Linked DNA regions of Homo sapiens: all the other regions are linked to region 7. The links are contacts of gene promoters, found by promoter capture Hi-C in blood cells and fetal thymus (Javierre and others, 2016). All regions are on one chromosome and are shown on one strand. The core of a region is centred on a gene start or on the middle of the fragment in contact, and the rest is flanking DNA. Distances in the headings are between cores, read along the strand shown.

Region 1 (3,702 bases), core at 107-2,606, 380 kb before region 7:
GGAATATTTAATATAATAGAATGTAAGTGACATTTCTGAAAATGCTTTCTTTCAGGGTGAAAGCTCTTATGTTTAGCATCAATGTGTATGGCTCTGTTAAATGCAGCCATTTCTGAGACGAGATTCTTTTATATATATATACATATAAAGTACTATTGGCTTTTAGGAGTTTCTTTTATATACATTTATGAAATACTGAAGACCAATCAGACCATTAATGGACACTTAGTGTAACTTTTTATAAAGAAAATAATGCTAAAGTAAGACCAAAACTGATGTCATCACTGAAATTAACAATTTTCAATATGTTCATATTTTAATTCACAATGGAAAAATGTGTTCCAAAACTGGAAACTCATAGTACTCGTGTAAACTGTGGAAGATTTCAAATGTGATGTTATTTTGACAATGTTTTAAATTTTAGAGTCACATTTTATTCTGATCAGAATTTTTATTGAGATGTTGAGCTTTTGTTTTTGAAACTAGTTTGTCATAACATTGTGCATAATCACAGTATTTATTTTCTAGGACAATTGTGAATGTGTAGACTTATGTTTACTGCTAAGGGAACAATTATTTATAAAATAATATTAAATCCAGTATTAGCTGCCTATTTCAGACACTTAATACTTGCAGAGATCTATGTTACATTTACCACACTGAAGTTTTTTTTGTTGTTTTTTGTTTGTTTTTAAAGAATCACCCTCATTGTTGAAAGTAAATGTACTCTTAGGGTGCGAATATTAGTGTTCCAATAAGCATGTGATTATATTAAGGTGGTGGTAGCGGGAAGATAATTCTGATTCCATTGGGAATCTTAGGTTTTCGTAAATTTATTGGGAAAATAGTTTTTCCTGTACTGCTGAAGTTTCTTTTTGGTAAACAGTATCTTTCTAAAAGAAAAAAGCATGAAGGAGAAATTGAGGTGTGTATACATTTCCTCAAATGACCAGCATTGTATTCGTGAATACTGTGTATCTTGCAGTGAACAGTGTGGAAGCTGTTCATTTTTCAATCTGAAGTAAAATACTTTCAAGAACTTTTAGTTTGCCTGCTCATTTGTTTTATACATTTCATCTATTTGACTCCTATCTTATTTCTTTTTTGAGTTTTAATACTTCCTATATTTTGTGAATATATCAGAAATGTGTCATTTATATATTAGAGTCCATTCATATCCATGAATCATAACCTTCCTTTGCTAATACTTGTTGAATGGGATTTTACAAATTCTCCCTCACTCTGGTGACATTTCTCAGGCAGTCATGTATGTGTACCTGGCCATTAGAAATATTAATATTTAAAGACTGTTTTTTAGAGGAGCTGATGGGTTGGTGAGGTGTCAGCACAAAATCTTACTGGTTATGTTTTGATGATAAAAGTATATCCATTTTTTCCCTCCAGCTTTAAGGTGACTGTGAAGGTGCCTGGTTTTGAATGTCTTTGTTTGGTTTGGAGATGTCGCACTCAGTTTTCAAATCTAGCTTGGATCTGTAGGACCTATGTTTTTTACAAGTAATTGCCCTCCAGTCTTCAACAGTTGATTCTGTTTTATTTTTATCCTGTTTTGAGTGTACTTTACCTTTACTTGCATTTTGAGCCTCATTAATATTTAGGTTATTTGATTTGGCTCCAGATATTCCTAGATCTGCACAGGGCAAAACATGGGCTATAGGGTGAGCATTTTTAATTGTCTTTTTCTGCTGGAACCTTATATCTCTCCATGTGTTTTCTGCTCCTTCCCTCCCCCATGAAATGGTAAGTGTGACTTGTGTTTGCCTGAACCTGTGGACTAGTGTTTGGGGTTTCTGGAAACACTAGAGGGTCAGAAAAGAGTAATGACCACCGTGACGTGCAGGATTCTCTTGCTGTGACATGTTCATTGCAAAGCCCTCTCCAGTGACTAGGAGGTGTAGTTATTAAGGTTGATCTGTTAGAAATCACCATTATTAGGTATTAGTGGTAGATGTTGCTGATACTTTTATTGGTCATGACTACATCTCAGTTTTACTTTAATATTGATCTATAGTTTGATCAGTTCCTTGAATTCTAATATGTTGATTTCTCAGTGTTTCTGTCACTAACCAAGAATGTTTCTAGGCAGTTGGTTGCTTCACAGTCAAAACTAAATGGTAAACTATCAAAAATACATTCCCAATTTTGCTGTGATAAATATTGAAATGTTAAAATTAATGAACAGAAGAATTTATTCTTACCCATCTATTCTTGTTCTCCTAGTTCATTAAACTTTCAGTTATTGGAAAGGCACATTCTCAAAGTATTTTATGAGCAAAATATTCTATAAATGCGTCTAACAAACCTAATTGAATATAAAAGTTATATTTAGTAGTTACTGTTGATAGTAATTTTCATCAGGGTCATAGTTCATCTAGTAAAATATTTAGAGAATGATGTTAACATTCCAGCATTAAAGTGGGAACAAAGATTTATATATGAAATTCCTTAAAAGAGTTCATCTTGCCTTGGTTTCTGACCCTCAAGACTCTAGCTACCTGCCATCTTGTCAAAACATTTGTGGGTAGAATAAGTGTTAAAGATCAAATTTTAATATGCTTCTCGATATTTAACATAGCTAAGAAGCCAGATTTTACTGTAGAAGTTATTTACATGATTTGAAAACTTGACCTAACTGGAAGCCTTTTTCTCAGTCATCTTGTTCTAAGCCATCTTGACTTCACACCCTTAGCGACTTTTCTTTTTTTTTTGGTCAAAGATAATGAGCTAAATATATATAGACGTTGAATGTTGACAAAATTATTAACCAGAAAAATTGCTTATAAAGGCTGCTGATCTATTTGATACCTAGAATTAAATATTTGAGGACAGTTTTTAGTTAATAAACTGCTAATGTTTATTTTACTGTCTCTCAGGTTTTTGGTTTTTTTAAAAAAAATGTGTTTGGCCTTTACATTTTCTACTTAAGTGTGTACTTTATTGAGTTTAACCTTGTCTGTAGCCTAGTAGCCTGAAAGAAAAGGAGACAGAACCAGAGAGATGGATGTAGTGCATTCCCTTTGGTTATTACACATTTGTGGTAGCTCCTGGATTTACTGAGAGATATTTTAGCTATGTCAATAAGAACAGCTAATGATGTGGAAATCAGGTGTTCTCTTGTGTATTTCAGTGAACATTTTTATTAGTAGTTGCATATCATCTCTAGTTCCACATTTTAACTTAACGTCTTTGTGGCTTCACCACTGAGCTACCTTTCACTACACCAGCTTCTGTGTGGCCTGGTAACATGGAAGGTCTCTCCTAAGGACAGTCTGGACGTATTTTGGGGGAATGTTATTTATCTTAAAGATGCCTAGAAACAAAACGCATATAGTACCAGTGAGAAACTATGAAGTAAACAAGTTGCTCAGGCCGGGCATGGTGGCTCACGCCTGTAATCCCAGCACTTTGGGAGGCCGAAGCGGGAGGATGGCTTGAGGCTGGGAGTTTGAGACCTTCATCTCTTAAAAAAACAAACAAAAACCTGAATGGTGAGGTGTGGTGGAATTGGGTAGGGGAGGGAAAGGAGGACTTGGAAAAGCATTCTCCAAAGCCAGCAACTTGGTGAAGTTCAGTACTTGCCTCTTAGAGGTTAGGCCATGCCTTTCAAAGAGAGTGAAATGATGGGTTATCAGCCACATTCTTGGAGTTAATATTTTTCTTCATCTTTCAGTTTGGGTTCTGTGC
Region 2 (3,752 bases), core at 295-2,794, 350 kb before region 7:
GAGAGGACTTGAGACTTTGTGGGGATTCAGGCATGGCTGGATCCAGGGGCTCAAATGGTATCATGAAGACTCTGCTTCTCTCTCCATTTCTCTGTCTTGGCTTCCTTTTCAGGCCAGTTCTTCCACAGAGAGGTTGTATTTGTAATCTATTGCTGTGTAACAAATTATTCCAATTACCTCATAATTTCTGTAGGTCAGGAGTTCAGGCTGAGCTGGGTGCTTCTGGCTGGGGTTCTCTGATGAGGTTGCAATCAAGCTGCCTGTCAAGCTGCAGTCATCTGAAGGCTTGACTGGGGCTGGAGGGTCTGCCTCCAAGGCAGCTTTGTCACATGCAGGGTGGGTTGGTGCTGGCTGCTGGCGGGAGGCCTCCGTTCCTCGAACACAGATCCCTCCTTGGGGCTGCTTGAGTGTCCTCGAGCCATGGTGTCTGGCTTCCCCTAGAGGGAGAGATCCAAAGGAAAGCTGAGTGGAAGCTTCTGAGATCTTTCATGATCTCAGAAGCCGCATATTGTGGTTTCCACGATATTTTATTGGTCACACAGGTGGTGTGGGAGGGGACCATTCACAGACATGAGTGCCAGGGGACAAGGGTCACTGGAGGCTGACTGCCACTGTGGCAAAGATGGCCCCAGTGGCTCGTAGCTCACACCTACTGCCAAGTGAATGAGAACACTTTCCCACAGTCCCAACAAAAGTCCTGGAAGTGAATTTCACAGGACCACCTGAGTCTCACACCCATTCCTCCATATACGCTAGTTGTGAGTCCACCCCTGCAGGGCTGGTTCCCCATAGGAACAGGGAGCTGTTACCAAAAGTGGACATGACATCCTCTGTGGAGAGGTCTATGGCATTGTGGCCTAGAGGAGGTGATGGTGGGGCACTGGGGAAGGCTTCCTGGTAGAGGCGGCACCAGTACCTGGCGGGATGGGTAGCATTTTGAGCATTCCAGGGACACTAAGGCCTGAGCAAAGAAATGGAAGAGTCAGGCAGCTGGGTAGCAGGTGGAGGCAGATAAGGATGGAAAAGTGAGTTGGGCCAGGTGGGGGTCCCCGAGAGGCAGGAGGAGGAGGCAGGACTTGCCTCTGGAGGCACAGGCAAGCCATGGAAGTTGTTTGAAGGAGGGGCAGGCACGTCGCAGAGCCTAGGGATTTAGGGTTTAGAGCGGGGAGAACGCCTGGCTGGCCTCCTCCCTGCTGGCTTGCACCCAGCACCCACCATGTGCCTTGTCGGCATTTCTCACAGCCCCCCACGGGCTCCCAGCAGAGTGGGCCACATCTCCTGACTTTACAGAGGGACTCCCTGAGCCACCAGGGTCCCCTAGCTCCGCCAAAGTCTCTCCCTGGAGCCCCTGACTCCAGAGCTCTCAGACAGGAATAATAGCAGGACCTTCCTGAAGGCTCCTCTTCATCCTGCCAGGACGATAGGCGAGGTTGGCGACAAGTGGCCAGCCCAATTGCTCAGACCCTCCCAGGGCTCCTCCCGGTGCCGTGAACCCCCGACCTTAGGGGAAGGAAGAGGTGACTGTGGCATGGACGGTGGTTTTTGTTCTCATATCCCCTGGCCCCTACAGAGACGTGCCCAGAGTTCCAAGCCCACTGGGTGCTGGGGCTTTCCTTCCCCCAGTAAGGGCTCGACATCTAGGTTTGTGTGGCAGGGCCAAGCTGTTTGCTCAGCACTCAGTGTTATTTGTCCCTTGGCTGACTGACAGCTTGACTGTCTGCTTCGTTTTGGCTGCAGTTTGAGTCTCTCCTACTGACTGTTTCATGGCCTCATCTTGAGCCCCCATTGTTGCCCAGGGTAGGAAGTCCTTCTCCCCTAAACTCTGGGCCACATATGCCTGGACCCTGCTGGGTACTTCTCCTCAGATCTCTTTTTTTTTTTTTTTGAGACAGGGTCTCACTTTGTCACCCAGGCTGGAGTGCAGTGGTGTGATCTCAGCTTACTGCAACCTTTGCTTCCTAGGCTCAAGCGATCCTCCCACCTCAGCCTCCCGAGTAGCTGGGATTCAGGTGCCCGCCACAATGCCTGGCTAATTTTTGTATTCCTCCCACCTCAGCCTCCTGCGTAGCTGGGATTCAGGCGCCTGCCCTCAAGCCCGGCTAATTTTTGTATTTTTATTAGAGACGGGGTTTCACCATGTTGGCCAGGCTGGTCTCGAACTCCTGGCCTCAAGTGATCCACCCTCCTCAGCCTCCCAAAGTACTGGGATTACAGGTGTGAGCCACCATGCCCTGCCGGCTTCTCCCCAGAGCTTTATGCCATGCCTTTGATGGGCACCTCTTACCTCCTCCCAGCCTAGGAACTTGCATGAAAGGGAACTATGTCCAAGTCAGTTTTGTGTCCCTAGCACCAGGGAAGAGGATGGGGGTTGCTGAGAGGGACAGGAAAGGATTGGGGTTGTGCTGTGTGCCCTGGCGCCTCTACCAAGCAGAAACCAGCCTTCCCTGTCTGCTACTGTGAAAGCCCAAGGTTGCCCTTCTTTGGGGGAGTTGAAAGAAAGCGGGTGTTTGTTCAGCACACTTGGGAGCACTGTGTGCCAGGGCTGGGAGATCTTGGGTGAGGGTACTCACCATGCTCATTACCTTGTAATGGGGTTAGGGGTAGCCTGTCCCTATGGAAGCTTGTCCTTGTTCCCAGGGAGGGTCAGGAGCATGGGTTGTGAAGTCAGGTAGATCTGAGCTTGAATCCTGGCTCTGCCTTTTCATAGCTGTGTGTGCTTGGGCCAGCAATGTGGTGTCTCTGAGCCTTGGTGCCTTATTCTACAGAGGGATGATAGCAGGGCCTTCCTCAGTGGGGCTGCCAGGGAGTGCCATGAGGCTGTGTGTGTAAAGTCCTGGGTGATGCCTGTGTGGATCCCAGGGAGCATTGACCTGTGTGTGCTCAGATCCTGCCTGCCGGGACCTCCTAGACAGCGTGAGGGGTGGGGTGTCAAGTGGTGGCTGGTGGCTGCGGCTGCGGGGAGCAGCTGGTTTGAGGCAGTGCTGAGGCTGCAGCAGGGAAGAGACTCACCGCCACATCTTCCAAGGAGAAAGCTGGGCGGGCAGCCTGGGAGGGCAGGAGGTATTGCTCAGTGGGACAGGAACCTTGATTATCAAACGGCAGGGTTTACTGTGCCCCTCTCATTATCAAACTGCAGGGTTTGTTATCATACAGCCTCTGCTGTATGGCCAGTTTATCTTCACACACTCCCTGCTCTATGGCCGGTGCTGGAAAGCCCAGGGCCCCATAAGCTCCCAGCAGGCAGTGGGGAACCCCCCTCCTGTGTCCAGGCATCTACATGTGTCCTCTCCAAGCTGCCCCTTTTCTCAAGCCGAGATCATCTTGCAGAAATGTTGGTCAGGGTGGGTCGCTCCCCACCTGCCATTCCCCTGGACTTGCCCTGCCTCCTATGCCCCTTCCCCTTGGCCCCCGATATCTCCCCCAGCGGCTCCATCTCCACGCCGCGCTTTCCTCAGGGTTTGAGCATGTGTCTCATCAGCCTCTCGCCCACTGGGCCAGGTCAGATCTGTTCTTTTTCCTGAATCTACTGAGCATCCAGCACCATGCCCTCCTGCATACGCAAACGGGTATCCCTCAATACCCATTTAAAAATGGACGGGTAATTTACATACAGGCAAGTGCACAAACCTTCAATGTACAGGGTAATGAGTGTACTTAGGCACTCGCCTGTATAACCAGCACCCACAGGGAGATTTAGAACCTCCTCAGCCCCCAGAAGTTTCCTGTGTGCCCCTTTCCAATCAGCGGCCTCC
Region 3 (3,722 bases), core at 188-2,687, 400 kb before region 7:
AGTACAGAACATATGCATTGCACACACTACAAAACTGCTTTAAATAAGTGTTCCTTTTCATTGTTAGATGGAAGTGACCCAGGGCAAGGATCATGTTTTATGAGCCAGTTTTCTCCTAGTGCCTTGAACATAGGCACTTGGTAGTGTTTAGAGAATGAATTGTCTTTTTTTTTTTTGAGACAAAGTCTCACTCCATTGCCCAGGCTGGATTGCAGTGGCACGGTGTCAGCTCACTGCAGCCTCCACCTCCCAAGTTGAAGTGATTTTTGTGCCTCATCCTCCCGAGGAGCTGGAATTACAGGCATGCGCCACCACACCCAGCTAATTTTTATATTTTTAGTAGAGATGGGGTTTTGCGTGTTGGCCAGATGGTCTCCAACTCCTGGCCTCAGGCGATCTGCCTGCCTCAGCCTCCCAAAGTGCTGGGATTACAGGCGTGAGCCACTGCGCCTGGCCAGAGAATGAATTCTTAATAAGTTTCTTATGACTTCAGATTGACTGGCAGTTGTGCTAAATATTTTTTGCCTTTATTTGAATTAGAAAATTCGTAAGGGGGCCTTGAGAGTAGATGCAGTCACATTTAGGAGATTTTTCCCCCCCATTGGTTAAAATGCAGTTTTTCTATGGATCTGCTTTAGAACTACAAATAAACTCCGATCACTCACAGCAGACTACGCAATGAGATAAGAAGCAGTCCATTTGTTCTGTCGTTTATTCATGGCCCTCATCTTTGCCAGCCAACCTGTGCAGAAGAGCACAGCAAAGCATAAGCTTCCTAACAGCTATTCCCATTCAGCTGCTGTCTTCAAGAAGCAGAAGGGTTTAGATAACCTTAGAGAACATAATCAAACCTGGGAAACTCAAATCAAAACAAAACTTCGAAACGGAAGTTGAAGGTCCTGAGGTACCCAGAGGCATAGCAAGGAAAACGTCCCCACTGGGATATCTTCTGGATTCACCTACAGACCTCTCTGGAGTTTTAAGATCCACGTTTTATGACATATTGCATAGCAAACAGGCCGAACGCTGTTGTAAATCATCCTCTACGAAAGGCCCAGGTTTTGAAACTGAAGGCCTGAAAAGGCTCCTGCTTACCAGCTGTGTGCTGTACCTGACACACTGAAGCCTGAGAGTGCCAGTCACCTGTCAGAGGGAACACAGCTGCCCTCAGGCAGAACCTGAGTCTAGAACTCAAGGTTTTTGACTCTTAGGCTAAAAATAAAAAATCAGAAGGAGGAACTATGGATTGCTTAATCAGTCACATTTTCACTTTCTAAGGTTTCTTGTAGCAAAAGTTATAGTCTTTGGGGATTGGGATGTAGACACTTTTTTTTCCTTCCCTAAAACAATTTTTGGCCTGCCAGTTTTTCGAGCTTCCTGCTCTGGACCCTGAAGTTGCCATGCAGTTGCAGACATGCTCCTCCTTCAAGGCTCTGTTAAGCTGTGGCTGCCCTTCCTTACCACTGCTGTGCCCCAGGCCAAACCCCCTGCCCCTCCTTCCCCTAAGGCACTTTGCACCTGTTGCTCCGAGCCTTCTGGTCTATCCCAGTTGGTAGAGTCCCTGTGCTTACCTCTGTGGCTCAGTCCTCGTGGGTGGTCAGTGCTCTAGGGAAGGTGAGCTGACCACTTCACTTTCCCTTCCCAGCCATAGCTCTTCACAGCCTCACCAACTTAGAAAGGAATGCTGCTTTTCTCTCTGTCCCCCGTCCTGACTATGTTCAAGTCATTGCTCAGCCCAGTGAGTTTGTCCTTTCTTCCAGACCAGTAGTTTTCCCCCAGTCCCTCAGGCTTCAGCCCTTGAAGGCATCCTTAGCCCCCCACCACCATGATAGTCAGGCGCTGCGCCTATCCGCAGGGTGTGGGTATGTGTGTGTCTTTTGTTTCTGGAGCCCATTCCTTTCCTTCCACCAGCCTCTAGGCCTTCATCCAATCCTTTTGCAACTCAGTGATTCATGACTTTTCCCTGCATCCAGTCTAGTCTCTTTGCTGGTCCATTGTTTCCATAGTTGCCAGTTTAATCTTCTTAAAATGCTGCATTTTTGAAGTCAGTCTCTTTTGGTCCCTCTCAGAAACATTTAAATAGCTATCTGTTGCCACAGGGGGAAAGCTTGAACCTCTTAGCCAGTCATTCAGAGCCTGCCCTCTGCTGGGGCCTGCTTTCCTCTACAGATGCTTCTCCCACTCTGCCTGCCACAGCCCTTGTAGCTGGCTGATTGCCCTGTACCTCGCAGGCTCTGGAAGTCTTCAGCTCCTTCATGGAGCCTTTGCCAGCCATTCTTTTCAAGACTTTGCTGTTGTTCACTGCCTGATTTGTTCATTTGACACTTAATTCACTGAGCAAACATTATGAAAGATGTACTGTTTGCTACTGTGAGGAATGGATCCCCAAGAGATAAGAGGGTCAGTCCCTACTGCCAGGAAACTTGCCTGTGTCACCTGGGTTCAGTATCTTGTGTCTATTAGATCAGAAGTGGAAAGGCAGAGGCCAGCCCGTATGCTTGTTTTATTTTATTTAAATCACCAGCACCCCAGCAAGTGTTTTGCACAGGAAATTTCTCATTATTTAATTATTTTGGGTTTTTTGATTAAATTCTGTACATTCCCATTTTAGCTTATCTTGAGTTATAACATTAAAATTAAGGTAGTCATCAGCTGAATTATAAGACTTAATTAGATAAGATTATTTAAGATAGTGATTTCTCATTAGATTGGCCCTGTTCATATTAACTTTTCTGTTTTTTTCTTCAGTCTGCATGAAGAAATCAGTGATTTTTATGAATACATGTCTCCAAGACCTGAGGAGGAGAAGATGCGGATGGAGGTGGTGAACAGGATCGAGAGTGTAATTAAGGAGCTCTGGCCCAGCGCTGACGTGAGTCCCTTCCTGGGTAGCTTATGCTTCGGACAGTCCTTGTCCACGGGCTAGAAGCCTATCTGCTGGTATCTCATGCTAGTCCTCACATGCAAGTAGAAGTGCTCTGTAGAGTTGTGGTCTAATTAAATTTTAAAGGCAAACAATTTTCTGCAGTCTTTAGAATTGAGGCTTCCTAACTATTTTCATTGGATTGGATGACTAACAACTATTTTTTTTTTGTAGTGCTAATAGCAACTACTAAAGGCAAGCTATCCTTAGAAATTATTAGTGTAAAGAGAAGAAAGACAAATCAAACCTCATTGTTGTAGTGGTCTGTTATTGGATATGATATATCAAAACCTCATTACTACTTAGTTCCAGCCTGCCAGGGTAAACATTATATAATTGTTTACAGCTAAATGAAAATGTCAAGTAAGAACTTTTGTCACTTGAAGTTCATTTCCTTTGGCTAATGCACGCATAAGTCTTTTCTTATTTCTTTCCTGAAATTGCCATTTTTCATCTCTCTCAGACCAGCTAATTGCCTTTTAGACAGCTCCCAGTCAGTGAACAAAATGATTACTCAGGATTTCTTCTTGGCTTATTTGTCGTTTTTGTTACTGGTACTAAGTCTTTTGTTTTTTGTTTTTGAGATGGGGTCTCACTCTGTTGCTGAGGCTGGAGTGCAATAGTGCGATCACGACTTACTGCAGCCTCGATTTCCTGGGCTCAGGTGATCCACCTCAGCATCCCGAGTAGCTGGGACTGCAGGTGCACGCCACCACACTTAGCTAATTTTTGTATTTTTTTGTAGAGACTGAGTCTCACTATGTTGCCCAGGTTGGTCTTGAACTCCTGGGTTCAAGCA
Region 4 (4,052 bases), core at 862-3,361, 490 kb before region 7:
GTAACAGTCCTTACTTATGCCTCCTTGCACCCCAGTGTTAAATATTGGTAGAATGAATAAATGAATGAATGAATGAAAGGCAAAGACAGCTATTTAGTCAAGTACCCAGATATTTCTTGAAAAGGATGTTATTGTGGCCAAGAGGCTGTGTGCCACCTTATTTATTTATGTATGTCACCCAGACTGGAATGCAGTGGTGCAATAATAGCTCACTGCAGCCTCTAACTCCTGGCCTCAAGTGATCCTTCCAGCTTGACCTCCCAAAGCTCTGGGATTACCAGGTGTGAGCTTTGCCTGGCCTAAGCATAACTTTTGATCTTCATAGGATCCAAAGTCATGAACTTGTAGCCACGTTGACAACTTGTCCGGCTTGAACAGATTGAATAATCAAGCAGACGTAGCCATAGTGTCACCTGTGAGAAACTGCAATATTTTATAGCTGCTTTGTTTGTTTTTTTGAGATGGAGTTTCACTATGTTGCCCAGGGTGGTCTTGAACTTCCTGGACTCAAGCAATCCTCTCGCCTCAGCCTCCTGAGTGGCTGGAACTATAGGGACTCACCACTGTGCTAGGCAAAATTGTAATGTCTTACAGACACATACACACACACAAAAAAAACTAATTATGATTTAAAAAGCTAGACAGAGATAATATCTTATAACTCAAGGTTTTTCAGCCATCAACACATAGATGTTGATTAATCATTCAACATTAATTATGGTTGTGTTTTTCAGGTCCTGTTTTAGAACTTTGAACAGGTCAATAATCTTGTATTGCTGTGGTCACAGTCCCTTGCTAATTACTGAAGGTAAATAAGATGTGATCACAAGAAACAGTCCACTCACTGTGTCTCACATATTCTCTATAGCCCTAAGAGAAATGACTTCCATTATATTTTAAGTTGGTTATATTGGCTAGTTTCTTTCTTTTTTCTTTTTTTTTTTGGAGATGGAGTCTTGCTCTGTCGCCCAGGCTGGAGTGCAGTAGCACGATCTTGGCTCACTGCAACCTCCTCCTCCCAGGTTCAAGCAATTCTCCAGCCTCAGCCTCCTGAGTAGCTGAGATTATAGGTGCCCACCACCACACCTGGCTAACTTTTGTATTTTTAGTAGAGACAGGGTTTCACCATGTTGTCCAGGCTGGTCTCGTTCTCCTGACCTCAAGTGATCCATCTGCCTTGGCCTCCCAAAGTGCTGGGGTTACAGGTGTGAGTCATCGCACCCAGCTATATTGGCTAGTTTCAAAACAGATCAGGGGCTATCCATTTGAAACCGTCCCACTAACATGATATGACAAGGTTTGTAAGTGATAAGCTTGGCAGCTTCGATTTCTGGCACAAGGTGTGTGGCCTCCCAGAGCTCTAGCCTGTCCTCTCTGACTCAGTTTTTCTTGCTCTGTAATGGGTTCTGTCCATTTGTCAGCCTGCAGATTTTCAGCTGGATTTTTTTTTCATGTCAGCCAAATAAATACAGAAATTGCTCCCCCCACCCTGATTATAATCATTTTGGCCACATTTTTCAAAGCTTACTCTTAGACCATCCCAAAACTCCAGGGTAACTCCATATTATTATTCAAATTTTTTCTCAAATTAAATGTCTGTTAGGCTGGTTACACAATCACAATAAGGGAAAAGCTTGGCCCTTTCATTTTGCATTTTACCTCAGAGAAGGTCCTTGTGGCTTGACTTTGCACATTACTGGAAACAGAATTTGCCTTTCTGCTCCTTTGTGAGGTAGTCAAAGCACGATGTGCATGTGGTTCCAAACACATTTAATTCTGTAGCTATTCTTTTGTTGAAGGCGCTCACCACAAAACATCCTGGAGGGGGATTACGGGGCAGGTGCAACAGACAAGGGTGTTTCCCGGATGGGGAAGGCAGAGCGCCAAGTAAAGGAGTAAGTGCTGAAGAAGGGATTTTACTTGAAATTGGAAGTCATAGGAGCTATTTGGTTTTGGGGGTGCATGTTTAAGTGATACATTTATAGATTAAAAACGAAATTCAGGCCATGTGCTGTGGCTCACACCTGTAATCCAGTACCTGCAGAGCCCCTCCTGCCTTGGCCTCCCCCAGAAAAACAAAGAATTTCAGAGTCAATAGCACGTTATGTTTTGACTACATCACAAAGAAGCAGAAAAGGGCCAGGCACCGTGTCTCACGCCTGTAGTCCCAGCACTTTAGGAGGCTGAGGCAGGCCGATCTTTTGCGTTCAGGAGCTCAAGACCAGCCTGGCCAACGTGGTGAAACCTCGTCTCTACTGAAAATACAAAAAAATTAATCGGGCATGGTGGCATGCACCTGTAGTCCCAGATACTTAGGATGCTGAGACAGGAGGATAGTTCGAACCCAAGAGACAGAGGTTGCAGTGGGTTGAGGTTGTGCCACTGTACTCCAGCCTGGGTGACAGAGTGAGTCTCCATCTCAAAAAAAACCCCCAAAACAAACAAATGACAACAACAAAAGCAGCAGAAAGGTAAATTCTTATTTTCCTCTTTTAAAAAAATTTCCTTTGTTTTAGGAATTCTTTTTCCAGACATGTGTCAAGCCAAGCCATGAGGGCCTTTTCCAAGGTAAAATGCAAAACAAGCGGGCCAAGCTTTTCCCTTATTTTTCCCTCCTTGCCTAGGAGTTTGAGACCAGCCTGGGCAACAGAGCAAGACCTCGTCCCTACAAAAAAATGAAAAAAAAGAAAACAAAAACAAAAACAAGTGGCTGGGTGCAGTGGCTCATGCCTGTAATCCCAGCACTTTGGGAAGCCGAGGTGGGCAGATCACGAGGTCAGGAGATCGAGACCATCCTGGCTAACACGGTGAAACCCCATCTCTACTAAAAATACAAAAACAATTAGCCAGGCATGGTGGCAGGCGCCTGTAGTCCCAGCTACTTGGGAGGCTGAGGCAGGAGAATGGCGTGAACCCAGGAGGTGGAGCTTGCAGTGAGCCGAGATGGTGCCACTGCACTCCAGCCTGGGCGAAAGAGCGAGACTCCGTCTCAAAAAAACAACAAAAAAAAGTAGCTGGATGTGGTGGTGCTTGCCTGTAGTCCCAGCTACTCAAGAGGCTGAGGTGGGAGGATTGCCTGGGTCCAGGAATTGGAGGCTGCTGTGAGCCATGATCACACCATTGCAGATCCAGCCTGGGTGACAGAGCGAGACCCTGTCTCAAATAAATAAATAAATAAATAACAGTTCAGAAGAGTATAAAGTGAAAGTCTCAATTTTTCATGGATTTCTTATGCTCTAGTTTTCCTCCCCTGGTCTTCTGTTACTTCCATGTATACCCTTCTAGAGATAGACGATGTGTATGCACATAGACAGGGCACTCTTATGACTGGTAACATATTATAACATTGGCCCACTTTGTTTGCTATTTTGCTTTTCTGTAACAATATACTCATTCAACAAATATTTATTAAGTACCTAATGTATGCTTGAATCCTGTCCTATGTACTCAGGATAGAGCAATGAACAAACCAATCAATATTAGTTTTCTATTGCTGTGTAACAAATTGTTGCAAATGCAGCAGTTTAAAGAAACACATTTAGTCTCTCTCAGTTTTTGTGGGTCTAGAGTCCATGCACTGTTTCCTTGAGTTATCTGTTTCAGGTTCTTGCCAGGCTGCAATCAAGCTATCAACAGTGCTGTGTTCTCATCTGGAGACTCAACTGGAGAAGAATTTGCTTCTAAGCCCACTCCAGTGGTTAGTGGACTTCATTTTCTTGTAGGAATAGGATGGAGAGCTTTGGATTTTTACCAGCTGTTGGCCAGAGGTCCTCAGTTCCTGGAGGCTGCCCCTGTGCAGTTGACAAGCAGCAGCTTGCTTCAGGCCAGGCCAGCAGAAGAAAGCATATCTGCTAGCAAGACGGAAGTCTTATTGGCTGGGCGCAGTGGCTCATGCCTGTAATCCCAGCACTTTGGGGGGCTGAGGCGGGTGAATCACCCGAGGTCAGGAGTTCAAGACCAGCCTAGCCAACCTGCCGAAACCCCATCTCTACTAAAAATGGAAAAATTAGCCAGGCGTGGTGGTGGGTGCCTATAATCCCAGCTACTCAAGA
Region 5 (3,596 bases), core at 29-2,528, 430 kb before region 7:
ATTAGAAAATTGTGTGTCCTTGGCCAGAAGATCACATACACAGGAACTCGATAAGTTGAGAGATTTAGCCGTTTCAGAAATGGGCATTTGTGTCTTCCAGTGGAGAAGCATCTGCAAAAGAATTGGGCAGATTTGGCCAGGCGCGGTAGCTCATGCCTGTAATCCCAGCACTTTGGGAGGCCGAGGTGGGCAGATCACCTGAGGTCAGGAGTTTGAGACCAGCCTGGCCAACATGGTGAAACCCCGTCTCTACTAAAAATACAAAATTAGCCAGGCGTGGTGGCTAACCCATTTAAAGTGGGTGAATTATATCTTTTATGTTTTAATGTATTCCTAGAGTTGTGCAACCATCACCAGAATAAGTTGTAGAACATTTTCATCAACCCAAAAAGAAACTTTGTATTCATTAGTCGTTCCTCCTCATTTCTCCCCTAACCTCCCAGCACTAGGCAACCATCAGAATACTTTTTGTCTCCACGGATTTGACTGTTTTGGACATTTCATATTAATGGAATGCACAATACAGTAGTATAATACATTAATTTTGGAAGGCCAAAATTAATGGCTTTTGATGTCTGCCTTTTTTCACTTAGAATAATGTCTTCCAGGTCCATCTGTGTTATAGCATGTATCATTACTTTATCCTTTATGTGGCTGGGTAATATTCCATTGTATGGTTATACCATGTTTTGTTTATCTATTCATCAGTTGATGGACATTTAGGTTGTTTTCCATTGACTATTAAGAGTAATGCTGCCGGCCGGGCGCGGTGGCTCACGCCTGTAATCCCAGCACTTTGGGAGGCTGAGGCGGGTGGATACGAGGGTCAGGAGATCGAGACCATCCTGGCTAACACGGTGAAACCCCGTCTCTACTAAAAAACAAAAAATTAGCCGGGCGTGGTGGCGGGCGCCTATAGTCCCAGCTACGCAGGAGGCTGAGGCAGGAGAATGGCGTAAACCCGGGAGGCGGAGCTGGCAGTGAGCCGAGATGGCGCCACTGCACTCCAGCCTGGGCGACAGAGCGAGACTCCATCTCAAAAAGAAAAAAAAAAGAGAATAATGCTGCCATCATGCTTGAGGGTTTTTTTTTATTTTGTTTTGTTTTGTTTGTGGGGGGAGCGGAGGGCACAGTCTCACTCTGTTACGCAGGCTGGAGTGTAGTAGGCTTACTGCAGCCTCCTCCGCCCCCTGGTTCTAGTGATTCTTGTGCCTCAGGCTCCTGAGTATCATGCTGCAATTTTTGTGTGAGCATACATTTTTCATTTCTCTTGGGTCAATATCTAGGAGTATCCCCACTTTTGGTTCTGAGTGTTAATTGAGCCTGTTGTGTTCTCACATTCCCTGTACTTAGATGGAAATAGTGCTTTGCCTAAAAAGAAAATAAAAGACCTGATTGTGCAGGCGAGTGAGAAAGAGAGAGAGGCGCTAGGGTTATTTCCACCCTGATACTCTTTGGGTAGTCTTGGTATGACTAGCAAAGAAGCAAGCTCCAAGTTGTAGTTTGCTTCCAAGTTTCTGGCTTCTGTGGGAATTTCTGCATCTAAGTAATGACAATTTTCAGTTACTTGCAGTAAGTAAATTATCAACCAATCTTACTGTGTATTACTAGCCTAGTAGGAATTTACTTGTATATCGAGAGGAATGCTGCAGCTTTCACCTTACTTCTAATGGGGATTAATGCTTACTTAACTTGCAGTTTTGGAGGCAAGTACAAAGTACAGGACCAATTATGGTCATGAAGTGAGAGAGAAGTCTGGCTAGTGAATGGTGATTGGCAACTCCAGTTGACTGTTCATGGCATCTTAGATCTGTGAGGAGGGAGGAGGGAAGGAAAGTTCAAGCTGGTCTTTATGGTAAGTTCTGGAACATTTCCCTGTGTCAATGGGTCATCTGTTCATTCACTGTGTAAAATGGTTGAGGGAAGTTTTAATTTACATGCTTCCTTATTGTGTAAACCTTTGATTTTTAGTGATTTCAGAGTTTGTTTTTATAATTACTTAACACGTGAAGAGGATGCAGAGTAACGTATCGAAGCTCTGGTTACCTTCCACTGGGATTTGACACATTTGATTTCCTTTATTCCCTCCTTCCTTCCCTTCCTCCCTCTCTCTTTTCTTAAGGAATGCAACTACTCAGATTCACCTGCACACCCTTGGCATACCTCTCACTCCCCCTTACCCCCACTTCCTCAGAGGTGACCTGTCCTCAGAGGCAAATGTGTGCCCTTTCCATCCGTACTTTTATGCTCTCATCTATGTTTACATCTATTAGTACACTATTGTCTGTATTTTTAAACATTACATAAATGGTGTAATTTTTACTTTTAATTCTGTAGTGGTGTTTCTCAAATTAAGTTCTGCACAAAACATTTTTATAGATATCCAGTGTTAGCTTAACGTTTTTCTTATTGTGGTAAAATATACATAAGATAAAATTTACCATTTTAGCCATTTTTAAGTTTACAAGTCAGTGGCATTAAGTACATTCACAGTGTTGTATAACCATCACCATTGTCCATTGCCAGAACTTTTCATCATCCTAAACAGAAACTCTGTACTCATTAAACAATAGTTTATCACTCCTTCCCTGCAACTAGATGCTGGCAATCACCATTCTACTTTCTATCTCTATCAATTTGCCTCTTCCATCTAAGTGGAATCCTACATATTTGTCGCTTTGTTTCTGGCTTTTTTTTCTTCTTGTGATGCTTTGTTTTAATTATGTTCCTGGCTTTCATCATCTAGCAGGCTGATTCCAAGGTTTGTCCATGTGGTAGCTTGTATCACTTTAATGTTTTTAGAGATAGTTAATATTACATTGTTTATATATACCACATTTTGTTTTTTCATTCAACCTTGATGGACATTTGAATTGTTTCCCCCTTTACCTGTTGTGAATAATGCTGCCGTGAACATTGATAACCAAATATTTGTTTGAATCTCTGATTTCAGTTCTTTTGGTTCCATACCTAGGAGTGGAATTGCTGGATCATATGATAATTCTATGTTTAACTCTTTGAGGGATGGCCAGACTTTTCCACCATAGCTAAATCATTTTACCTTCCCACAAGCAAAGTTCAAGGGCTCCAGTCTCTCCCCATAAGGTCCTTTGCACTTTTTTTTTTGAGACGGAATCTCACTCTGTTGCCCAGGCTGGAGAACAGTGGCACCATCTTGCCTGACCTCAAGTGGCACCTGCCTTGGCCTCCCAAAGTGCTAGGATTGTAGGCGTGGGCCACTGCACTCTGCCAATTTTTTAATTTTTATTTTCATTTATTTTTCTTTTTTTAATTTTTAATTTTTTTATTTTTTGAAGGGATAAGGTCTCACTTTGTTGCCCAGGCTGGTCTTGAACTCCTGGCTTCAAGCAATCCTCCTACCTCGGCTTCTCAGAGTGCTGAGATTATAGGTGTAAGCCCCTGCACATGGCCTTTACTCTCTTGATAGTGTCCTTTGATGCACAAAAGCTTTCAATTTTGATGAAGTTTATTTTTTATCTTGTTACCTGTACATTTGGTGTCATATATCTAAGAGACCATTGCCAAATGCAGTGTCATGAAGCTTTCCCTCAGTGTTTTCTTTCTGCAGTTTTATG
Region 6 (4,100 bases), core at 442-2,941, 460 kb before region 7:
TCAAAGACATGAACATACATCTGAAAGGCCTGTCTCCATGGTCCCTTAGAGCAGCCCATACAAGAAACAGGCTGCATAAACTACCAAGGAAGCTGTTGTTTGCAGCTGAAGGGTCTTTGTGTGTTTTCCGTATTTCTGGTCGTGCTATTTATTCTCTTACCAAAAAAAAAAAAAAAAGTAAGGTCAGGCGTGGTGGCTCACCCCCTTGTAATCCCAGCAGTTTTGGAGTCTGAGGTAGGAGGATCGCTTAAGTCCAGGAGTTCCAGACCAGCCTGGGCAGCGCAGAGCAACTTCGTCTCTATGCCATGTTGACGCGTGCCTATAGTCCTAGCTACTCGGAGGCTGGGGCAAGAGGATCGCTTGAACCCAAGAGGCCGAGCCTGCAGTGAGCTGTGAATGAGTCACTGAACTCCAGATGACAGAGCAAGAGTTAGTCTCGAAAGAAAGAAAAAGGTAGAGCGACACTTAGTTCTTTGATAGTTTTCCACTATTTGTCATAAAAACTTTCCAGGATATTGAGCTCCCAAAATGGAAGGCCAATATCAGGCATCAGGGACTTGTTCTGGACGTTGGACCAACCTTAAAGGGCCCACATAGAAGCTGTTCACTTACTTTCTTTTAGTCTCTTGATTTAAAATACTTAACATTCCCCTTTCCTTGGCTTTTTAACCACTGAGATTTGAAAGACATGCAAATAACGACCTAGTGGACAATCTTTGCTGATGCTAAATCTTCATTTTAGGATTAAAAGGTTTTGGGTTTTCTTAAAATTTAATGCTGAACTCAGAAGAGCTTTCTAAGGCTGTTGGTGCACCTTAGGGCAGGAGAGCGTCTTTGCTACGCCGCGCAGGAGTGTGTCTGCTTCTCTGTGCATCTACACGTGTTTGCGTGTCCCTGTAAAGTGGGTTGAGTGTGCGGCTGCGGCTTTCCGCCCTTGGCTCACACTCTCAGTCTTAGTGGTCTCCCCCAGGGCTATGCATGGGGTACAGGTTTCTGTGGCCTCAGGCCGGGGTGAGGGGTCCCCCACCCCGGCCAGGGCGCAGCAGGGCGGGGCACACGTAGCCGTGCAGGGTCTCGCGCAGCCCGCGTCAGGACCCCGGGGCACACGCTCGGGCAGGGGGCGTGTCCCCACGCCACCAGAAAAAGTGTTATAGGCTGTTTTTTTTTTTTTTTTTTTTTTTAAAAAGAAAGTGTTTTAGAAAGCAGGCAGAAGCCAAGACGTCAGGAAGGGTTGCGAGGGCCCGGGATCCGGCGGCCACAGGGATGGGAGGGGCGAGGAGCGAGGGGCGGAGTGGCACCTCCCACAACGCGCTCCCTGCGGGGCGGGCGGCAACCTCCATGCGGCCTCGTCCACGCTCAGCACCGGGGAAGCCGAGGCGGAGAAGCCGCGCGCGCCTCAGAAGCTCCCGGACGCCCAGGTACGTGGGAGCACTCCACAGATGGCGCAAGTACGGTTGGGCCAGGCGGTTGCGGCCCCGTCGCGCCGCGGCCTCTGTGACGCACGGCGAGGCCTCCCGGGCTGCTGCGCGGCGCAGCGGGGGCGGGGCGAGCGCGTGAGGGCGGGGCGGTGGGGGGGGGGGGCGGAGCGAGAGGGGCGGAGCCGGCAGAGGCCCCGCCCCGGGGCCGGAGGAGCGAGGACGCTACGGAGCAGGCGCGTCTCGCTGCCGCCGCTGCCGCCGCCGCCGCTCGCTCTTCTGTGGAGCCGCCGCCGCCGCCGCCGCCATTTGCACGGGGACCCCAGTGACAGGGGCTCGGCGGAGGGGCGGAGGGGCGGAGGGAGGGGGGGAGGGCCCGCGGAGCCCCCGAGGGCGGGAGCGACGCCGCCGGCGCCGGCCGGGCTCCCTGCGCGACCGCGCCGCCCGCGGCGGGCCCCGAGCAGCAGCAGCAGCAGCAGCGGCAGCAGCGGCAGCAGCAGCAGCAGCCGAGGCCGGGCGTGCGCCTGAGGCGGCGGCGGCGGCGGCCCTGCGGGCGGCCGGGAGGGGCGGGGGCAGCGGCCGCCGCCGTTTGATGGATCCGAGGATCGCCTGGTTTCAGCCAGAGCAGCTCGGACCGTCCAACAGTCTGTGGATGCAGATCTGGGAGACGACCCAGGGGCTGAGGAACCTCTACTTCAACCACCACTGTCACAGCAGCGGCGGCGCGAGCGGCGGCGGCGGCAGCAGCAGCAGCAGCAGCACGGCCACCGGCGGGAGCGGCAGCAGCACCGGCAGCCCCGGCGGCGCGGCCTCGGCCCCGGCCCCGGCCCCGGCCGGCATGTATCGCTCCGGGGAGCGCCTGCTGGGCAGCCACGCGCTGCCCGCGGAGCAGCGGGACTTCCTGCCCCTAGAGACGACCAACAACAACAACAACCACCACCAGCCCGGGGCCTGGGCCCGCCGGGCGGGCTCCTCGGCGTCCTCGCCTCCCTCGGCGTCCTCGTCCCCGCACCCTTCGGCCGCCGTCCCCGCCGCCGATCCAGCCGATTCGGCCTCGGGCAGCAGCAACAAGAGGAAGCGCGACAACAAGGCCAGCACGTATGGACTCAACTACAGCCTGCTGCAGCCCAGCGGAGGGCGGGCCGCGGGGGGCGGCCGAGCAGACGGCGGCGGGGTCGTGTACAGCGGGACCCCGTGGAAACGGAGGAACTACAACCAGGGAGTCGTGGGGTGAGTGCTGGCTCTGCGGCCCGATGGCCTGGCCGGTGCGAATGCGCAGCCGGGCACACGCCCACAGAGGGGGGTTGTGAGGGTCTAGGAGCGGCCACCCCCACGGCCTGCCTTCGCTGCTGTTGCACGGGGGTGCTGCTGGCCATCCCCAACCCCCCAGTCGTTCACACCTTTCCCCAAGCCTCCTTAGCCGTCCACACCCTCCGTCTCCTGTCCTCCCTTAGTCGTCCACACCTTCCTCCCCTCCCTCTTAACCGTCCACACCTTCCCCAGGCCCCCCCCTTTATCCATTCACTCTCCTCCCATCCCCCTTAGTTAAACACATCTACCCTTGACCACCACCCCGCCTCCAGCCCTCCACACCTTTTTCCCCATCATCACAACTCAAGATGAGACCGCTTAGCACGGGCCTATCATTCATTCCCTGAGAACATTGGTGTGTGAGTGTTTTTTGATGGTGCAGGACCCGGAGGTGCTTTCCTTGCCAAGAATAGAAACATCCAGAATGCTCCTCCCCATCCCCCAATCCCAGACAGCAATTATGTCAGCCCTGTAAGGCATTGCCTGCTCTTGACCCTTTGGCCCATCTTTTTATTTTTAAAAAATTCCCATGTCACAGATGCCCTGTCTATGCAGAGGGTGGCGTGGGATGGGTGACCACTAAGTTTAGGCTGGTGAAGGTGGTGAGCCCTTCTGAGGCCCTGATAGAACTTTCCAGGAGTTCATGGTCCGCGGCTCCAGCTTCTCACTGTAAAGTTGTCATCCTGGCAGAGGCAGCCAATGCTTTTCATTCTAGGGGGTAGAGATTTATGCTAATGAGTGAATATTGCACCACTAGTGACTTTCTGTTTAAAGTTCAGCTCTTAGAAAATGGAATCTTACCTGACCCCTAGTGAATTATGTACATAAGCAGGGAATGTTTCCAACTAGATCTCCCTTCAGAAGAGTCCCTGTGCTGGAATAGGTCACTGAATCTTATTTGTTTTGTAAAACAAAGCTTTTGGGTCTCGTGGGTGTGTGTGTGTGTGTGTGTGTGTGTGTGTGTGTGTGTGTAGCTTGAGTATGGAGAACCGGCTTTCAAATTGCTTTTCATTTTTCAGGTTGTGTTTTACATTGAGGGCTTTAGCATGCAAATGAAATTACCAATTAGTAATCCCATGTGAACCTTTTCCTGGATTTATTCATTCAGATCTGCCCTGCTTTGGCTGAGAGAGAGAGTTCTGTGTACCTTTTTGAAGGTCTGGATAAAATGAGTTGGTGGGTTCCATCTGCTTCCAGTGGGCTGGTGTCTGCTCTATGCTACTATTACAACTCCTACCTTTTGTGGAAAATGCAGTCAAGCGTTCTAGGACTGGTGCTGTGGTACATGTCAAACCTGCCCTCACATTCCAGAAAGGGAACCCTTTTAGGGTTGAGTCCTCTGTTGCTAAGCTTCAAGGGTGCTCTCCATGGTCA
Region 7 (3,794 bases), core at 219-2,718:
AAGCAGGTGACCCCTCCCTCCGGCCTCTCAGGCAGGACCTGTGTACCTGTGTTGGGGCCTGGGCCAGTCTGTCCAGGCTCCCAGGGGTCAGATGTTGGGCAAAGGAACTTGGGAGGCCTGTACTTCCTTTCATCTGTAGTTGGAAAACTGAAGCCCAGAGAGGGAAGTGACCTGTCCAGGGTCACACAGCAGACTGAGAACAGAATCTGGCCCCTCACTCCTCACCATTCAGTATGTGCTGGGCATTTGCTGCAGCTAGGGGCTCTGCTGGGCCCTGGGTTCACAGGCACGAGCAAGGTAGGCAGGCCCAGCAGTCACGACATTCACAGGAGGGAGGCAGGGATGAATACATAAATCTGCGAAGGAGCATGGAAGTTTCTAGTAGTGGTTCTCTGCTAAGACGTAAAACCCAGGGAGAGGTAGAGTGAGGAGGCTTTTCTGAGAAGGTGATGTTTCAGCTGAGATGCAGATGCCAGGAAGGAGCCAGCCATGGAAGAATGTAGGGGGAGAGCAGCTATGAGTGAGCAGAACCCCAGAGTGGAGGGAACTTGGTGTTTGGGGAAGAACAAAAAGGAGGCCGATGTGGCATCAGGAATGAGAGTGGGGTGGTCGGCAAGTGTGGGACCACGCCCTTAGGTTGCGTGGTTCTGCCCAGATGGTTGGGTGGGTGACTGCTGGATTCTGACCTCTGTTTTAAGAAGTTAATTCTGGCTTCTGGGAGGGACTGCCCATGGGCAGGGAGGAAGAGGGCAATGAAACCAGGAGGTGACTGCAGGGTCGCAGGCGAGAGGAGATGGTGCTGGCCTAGCCTGGGAGCTTGGGGCTGGGGAGAGGTCCATGGGGCTGGAGGTTGGAGCTGGTGAGAAGGGGGTTGAGGGAACGAGAGAGATCAGGGATGCATCTTAGACTTTTGGTTTCAGGAACTAAGGATTTGGCGGTGTCACTTCTGAGGTGGAGGTTTTGGCGGGTGACCATCAAGCCTCCCGTTTTTGGACCAGTTGGGTTCAAGATGCCCATTTAACATCCAAGGAGAGGTACCGAGGAGGCCGTGGGATACCTGGTGATTGGAGCTTGGGGTTCAAGGAGCAGTTGGGCAAGAAACAGAGAGAGAGAGCGAGTCAAGACTTCTCAGGAAGTAGCCACGGACATTGCCCGGGACTCTCGGGCAAGGCTCCTCAATACACAGGGCTGGCGGTGGCTTCCCAGGAAGGCTGGGAGGAAGAGGAGTTCATGGGAAGGCAGCAGGGACCCCCAGATGGAGGGGCAGGTGCCCATGCCCCGCCGGCTCCTCTCCCTCAGTTCAGAGCCTGTCCTGTCGGGGGGTGTCAGCGGCCCTGACTCTCCACTCCCCTACAGTCCCCCCAGAAGCTGAGTTGCAGCGGTGACAGAGAACAAGCGGACTTTGTTACCTTGGCAGTTTCTCTCAAGTCTGCTCCTCATAAAAGCTCAGCTGGAACAGTGGAAATTCTGACTTGTGTCAGATACCGGAGAGGCTTTAATAGTTTCAAGTAGCTCGGGGTTAGATTGTAAAAGCCGAATTTCATCACATGTTTTAACTTGGGTGGGGGCGGGCGGGGGAGAGTGGAAGGGACGTGATATTTTTAGCCCACAGAAGGCTTTTTCTCCCCTTTCCCCTTCTCTCCCGGGGCTTCCCCCTCCCTCCCTGAACAGATGTTTCGTCTCAATCCTGTTCAGATGTCAAAGCCGAGTGGCCACCAGCCTTATGCTCTGATGAGGAAAAAAAGGCCAGAATGTTATTTGTTGAGAAGGATTTCCTCCCCTACCCGCTTTTCCCCCTTTTTTGTTTCCCCTCAGTTACAATTGGTCCATAAGCAAAATCTAGTGGCAGTAAAATGCAGCTGGGAGGCAGGATGGTGGAGAAGAAGTCCCTGGTGGCATTTCTGGTCTCAGGAAGGGGCAGACACCCACAGGTGAAAAAGCTGGAAATCACCCTAGAGGGACTGCCCTGGGTGAGTGAATTACTGCTGTGGTGCTGGTGCTGGTGGTTTTTCCTAAAAAGCAGGATCTCAGAGAGACGGATTTGTTAAGTCAGGATTCTTTCGGTTCTTTTGGAAACTCACTTAAACTTTTGGCTCATGAAATTGAAAAATCCTAGGGTAGATCTTGCCTAAAAAGGCCTGTTTGGATTCTGGAGCTAAAACCATGTCATGGACACATGCACGCACACACACACACTCACACACACACGTATACTCACACATTCACACACATGTCTCGCTCGCTGCCCCTCTCTCTCCCTCTCCATCATCTCTCCCTCTGTCCCCTGGTGGCTTCTCCCCCACAGGGGGCAAGGGTGGCAGTTCCCAGCTCTGGGCACTCCCATCCTATGAGCACAGCCCTGTCAGGTGGAAGAAAGTTCCCAGGTCACAGGGGTTCTTGCACATGTTGGACTCACTTTATTGACCACTTTACTGGTCACTTGACCAGGGTAGATCTAGGTTTTATGGGACCTGAAGCTTTCTGGGGCCAAACCAAAATAAATATCTCACCAACTCAGTCTCTCCTTAGCTCATGTCCAGAAATGCCTGTATTTCCCCTAGTATCACCTCACACAGGCAAAGGATGTCAGAATGGTTAGATGACAATCTTAATAGATTGAGGATAAAATGCCTAATTTGGAAAATGTTACAAATACAAACACATATGACCACATAAACACCTTGCAAAGACCCATCCTGACTTGGAAAGGGCCCGTGTAGGTGAGAGGGCCCAGAAGCCTAGCTTCATTAGCTTCTTCATAAACTCTTCTTTCATACTGACCTAGGACCAGCCACGTGGCCTTCAGGATGAAACAAGCTGGGTCAGGTAGGGGTACTGAGTGCAGTGTGACCCTGGAGTGGGATCAGTCTCCATAAACTAGATAGACTGAGAGTGGGGGATGAGTAGCTCTGGGGAGGAAAGCCAGATGCTATCATCAGAAGGAGGAGAAGGATTGCTGGACAGGCAGGAACAGGTGTCAGCTATTGTGGTCTGAGAGAGTGGACAGGCCAGTGGTTGAGGAGTTGGGAAACTGGGATTTAGTTCTCTTTGTTCCACAACTTCTGGGTTCAAATCCTGGTTCTGCTACTTACCGTTGTTTCATTTTGATGATGCTGCTGATGATGCAGCACCTATAGTGTGATAGACACTGCACTATAGACATATATATCTCAGGGTATAGATATTGGGCTGATGGAAGATTCTGATGATTAAATGAGTGATATAATGATGGTGTAATAAGGCTCACTGAGCAGGGAAGCCTAACCTAGCCCTGAGGGTGTGACAGCATGCTGCTCAGAGGAAGGGAGGCTTAAACTGAAGACCTGAAGGATGAGTGGGAATTGCAGAGCTGGAAAGAGTGTTCTTGGCAGGGATAACAGCGTGAGAGCATGGCAGGCTCAGAAAAGGGAAAGCAGTTCCACAGAGAGACGGGACTGAGAGGTGGCAGCAGCCGGGTCGTGGAAGCCTTTGGACCCCTCCTTAGGGGAAAGGGGGCCACTGGAGGGGTTTAAGCAGGGAAACGGCATAATCAGTTTTGGTTTTTAAGCTCAGTTTCCTCTTTTGTACGATGCCAACAGTAGCACACCCTGCACAGTGTTAAGAGGACTTAATGGAATAATGTGTGGTACTACTAACTTCACCAGCCTCTCCATGCAGCCCACCACAGTATGTGGCTGTGTTTACAAACAGAGGTGGGATCGCTAGGACCCTCATTCCCTAAGGAGAGCCTGATACAGATACTGCAAGAAACCATTTGGCCTGGAATGCACATATGATATCTTTCTCTTTTTACT

The links. The method cuts DNA at HindIII sites, captures the fragments that hold promoters and counts their contacts. A CHiCAGO score of 5 or more calls a contact.
Region 1: a fragment that was not itself captured here is called in contact with the fragment with the promoter of NKD1-AS1 in region 7 in 7 of 17 cell types (total CD8 T cells, non-activated CD4 T cells, naive B cells and 4 more); the score reaches 11.6 in total CD8 T cells.
Region 2: a contact is called between a fragment that was not itself captured here and the fragment with the promoter of NKD1-AS1 in region 7, in 4 of 17 cell types (non-activated CD4 T cells, naive CD4 T cells, naive CD8 T cells and 1 more). The highest score is 8.6, in non-activated CD4 T cells.
Region 3: a contact is called between a fragment that was not itself captured here and the fragment with the promoter of NKD1-AS1 in region 7, in 11 of 17 cell types (naive CD4 T cells, activated CD4 T cells, non-activated CD4 T cells and 8 more). The highest score is 13.1, in naive CD4 T cells.
Region 4: a contact is called between a fragment that was not itself captured here and the fragment with the promoter of NKD1-AS1 in region 7, in 6 of 17 cell types (total CD8 T cells, naive CD8 T cells, naive CD4 T cells and 3 more). The highest score is 6.8, in total CD8 T cells.
Region 5: a fragment that was not itself captured here is called in contact with the fragment with the promoter of NKD1-AS1 in region 7 in 4 of 17 cell types (non-activated CD4 T cells, naive CD4 T cells, neutrophils and 1 more); the score reaches 5.8 in non-activated CD4 T cells.
Region 6: a contact is called between the fragment with the promoter of TENT4B here and the fragment with the promoter of NKD1-AS1 in region 7, in 10 of 17 cell types (monocytes, M1 macrophages, non-activated CD4 T cells and 7 more). The highest score is 8.1, in monocytes.

The regions. Positions count from the first base shown.
Region 1 is chr16:50,230,787-50,234,488 of GRCh38, forward strand. TENT4B (terminal nucleotidyltransferase 4B) reads left to right here. Exons shown (of 12, transcript NM_001365324.3): 12 at 1-3,702. Among named protein-coding and RNA genes, the nearest start is that of ADCY7, 34 kb to the right of the region's middle. The HindIII fragment of the contact is 5,078 bases long and covers 1-3,702 here.
Region 2 is chr16:50,260,391-50,264,142 of GRCh38, forward strand. It overlaps a transcript of ADCY7 not described here. Among named protein-coding and RNA genes, the nearest start is that of ADCY7, 4.3 kb to the right of the region's middle. RefSeq lists an enhancer at 1,755-1,824. The HindIII fragment of the contact is 2,147 bases long and covers 472-2,618 here.
Region 3 is chr16:50,208,575-50,212,296 of GRCh38, forward strand. It overlaps TENT4B (terminal nucleotidyltransferase 4B), which reads left to right. Exons shown (of 12, transcript NM_001365324.3): 2 at 2,749-2,872. Among named protein-coding and RNA genes, the nearest start is that of ADCY7, 56 kb to the right of the region's middle. RefSeq lists silencers at 1-158, 2,004-2,298 and an enhancer at 1,428-1,487. The HindIII fragment of the contact is 1,336 bases long and covers 770-2,105 here.
Region 4 is chr16:50,120,160-50,124,211 of GRCh38, forward strand. No RefSeq gene overlaps it. Among named protein-coding and RNA genes, the nearest start is that of TENT4B, 31 kb to the right of the region's middle. RefSeq lists silencers at 1,307-1,396, 1,687-1,746 and an enhancer at 2,971-3,471. The HindIII fragment of the contact is 961 bases long and covers 1,632-2,592 here.
Region 5 is chr16:50,183,629-50,187,224 of GRCh38, forward strand. The region is part of intron 1 of TENT4B (terminal nucleotidyltransferase 4B); the gene reads left to right. Among named protein-coding and RNA genes, the nearest start is that of TENT4B, 32 kb to the left of the region's middle. RefSeq lists enhancers at 349-911, 912-1,473. The HindIII fragment of the contact is 4,375 bases long and covers 1-3,466 here.
Region 6 is chr16:50,151,615-50,155,714 of GRCh38, forward strand. It overlaps TENT4B (terminal nucleotidyltransferase 4B), which reads left to right and starts at 1,692. Exons shown (of 12, transcript NM_001365324.3): 1 at 1,692-2,645. The coding sequence starts at 2,008. It also overlaps the pseudogene LOC124900375. RefSeq lists enhancers at 748-1,705, 3,343-3,392 and silencers at 932-1,021, 1,242-1,411, 1,522-1,681, 1,912-2,011, 2,192-2,241 and 1 more. The HindIII fragment of the contact is 13,709 bases long and covers 1-3,640 here.
Region 7 is chr16:50,612,182-50,615,975 of GRCh38, forward strand. It overlaps NKD1-AS1 (NKD1 antisense RNA 1), which reads right to left and starts at 1,469. Exons shown (of 3, transcript XR_007065197.1): 1 at 1,410-1,469. All of the region lies in intron 4 of NKD1 (NKD inhibitor of Wnt signaling pathway 1), which reads left to right. The HindIII fragment of the contact is 2,641 bases long and covers 1-2,475 here.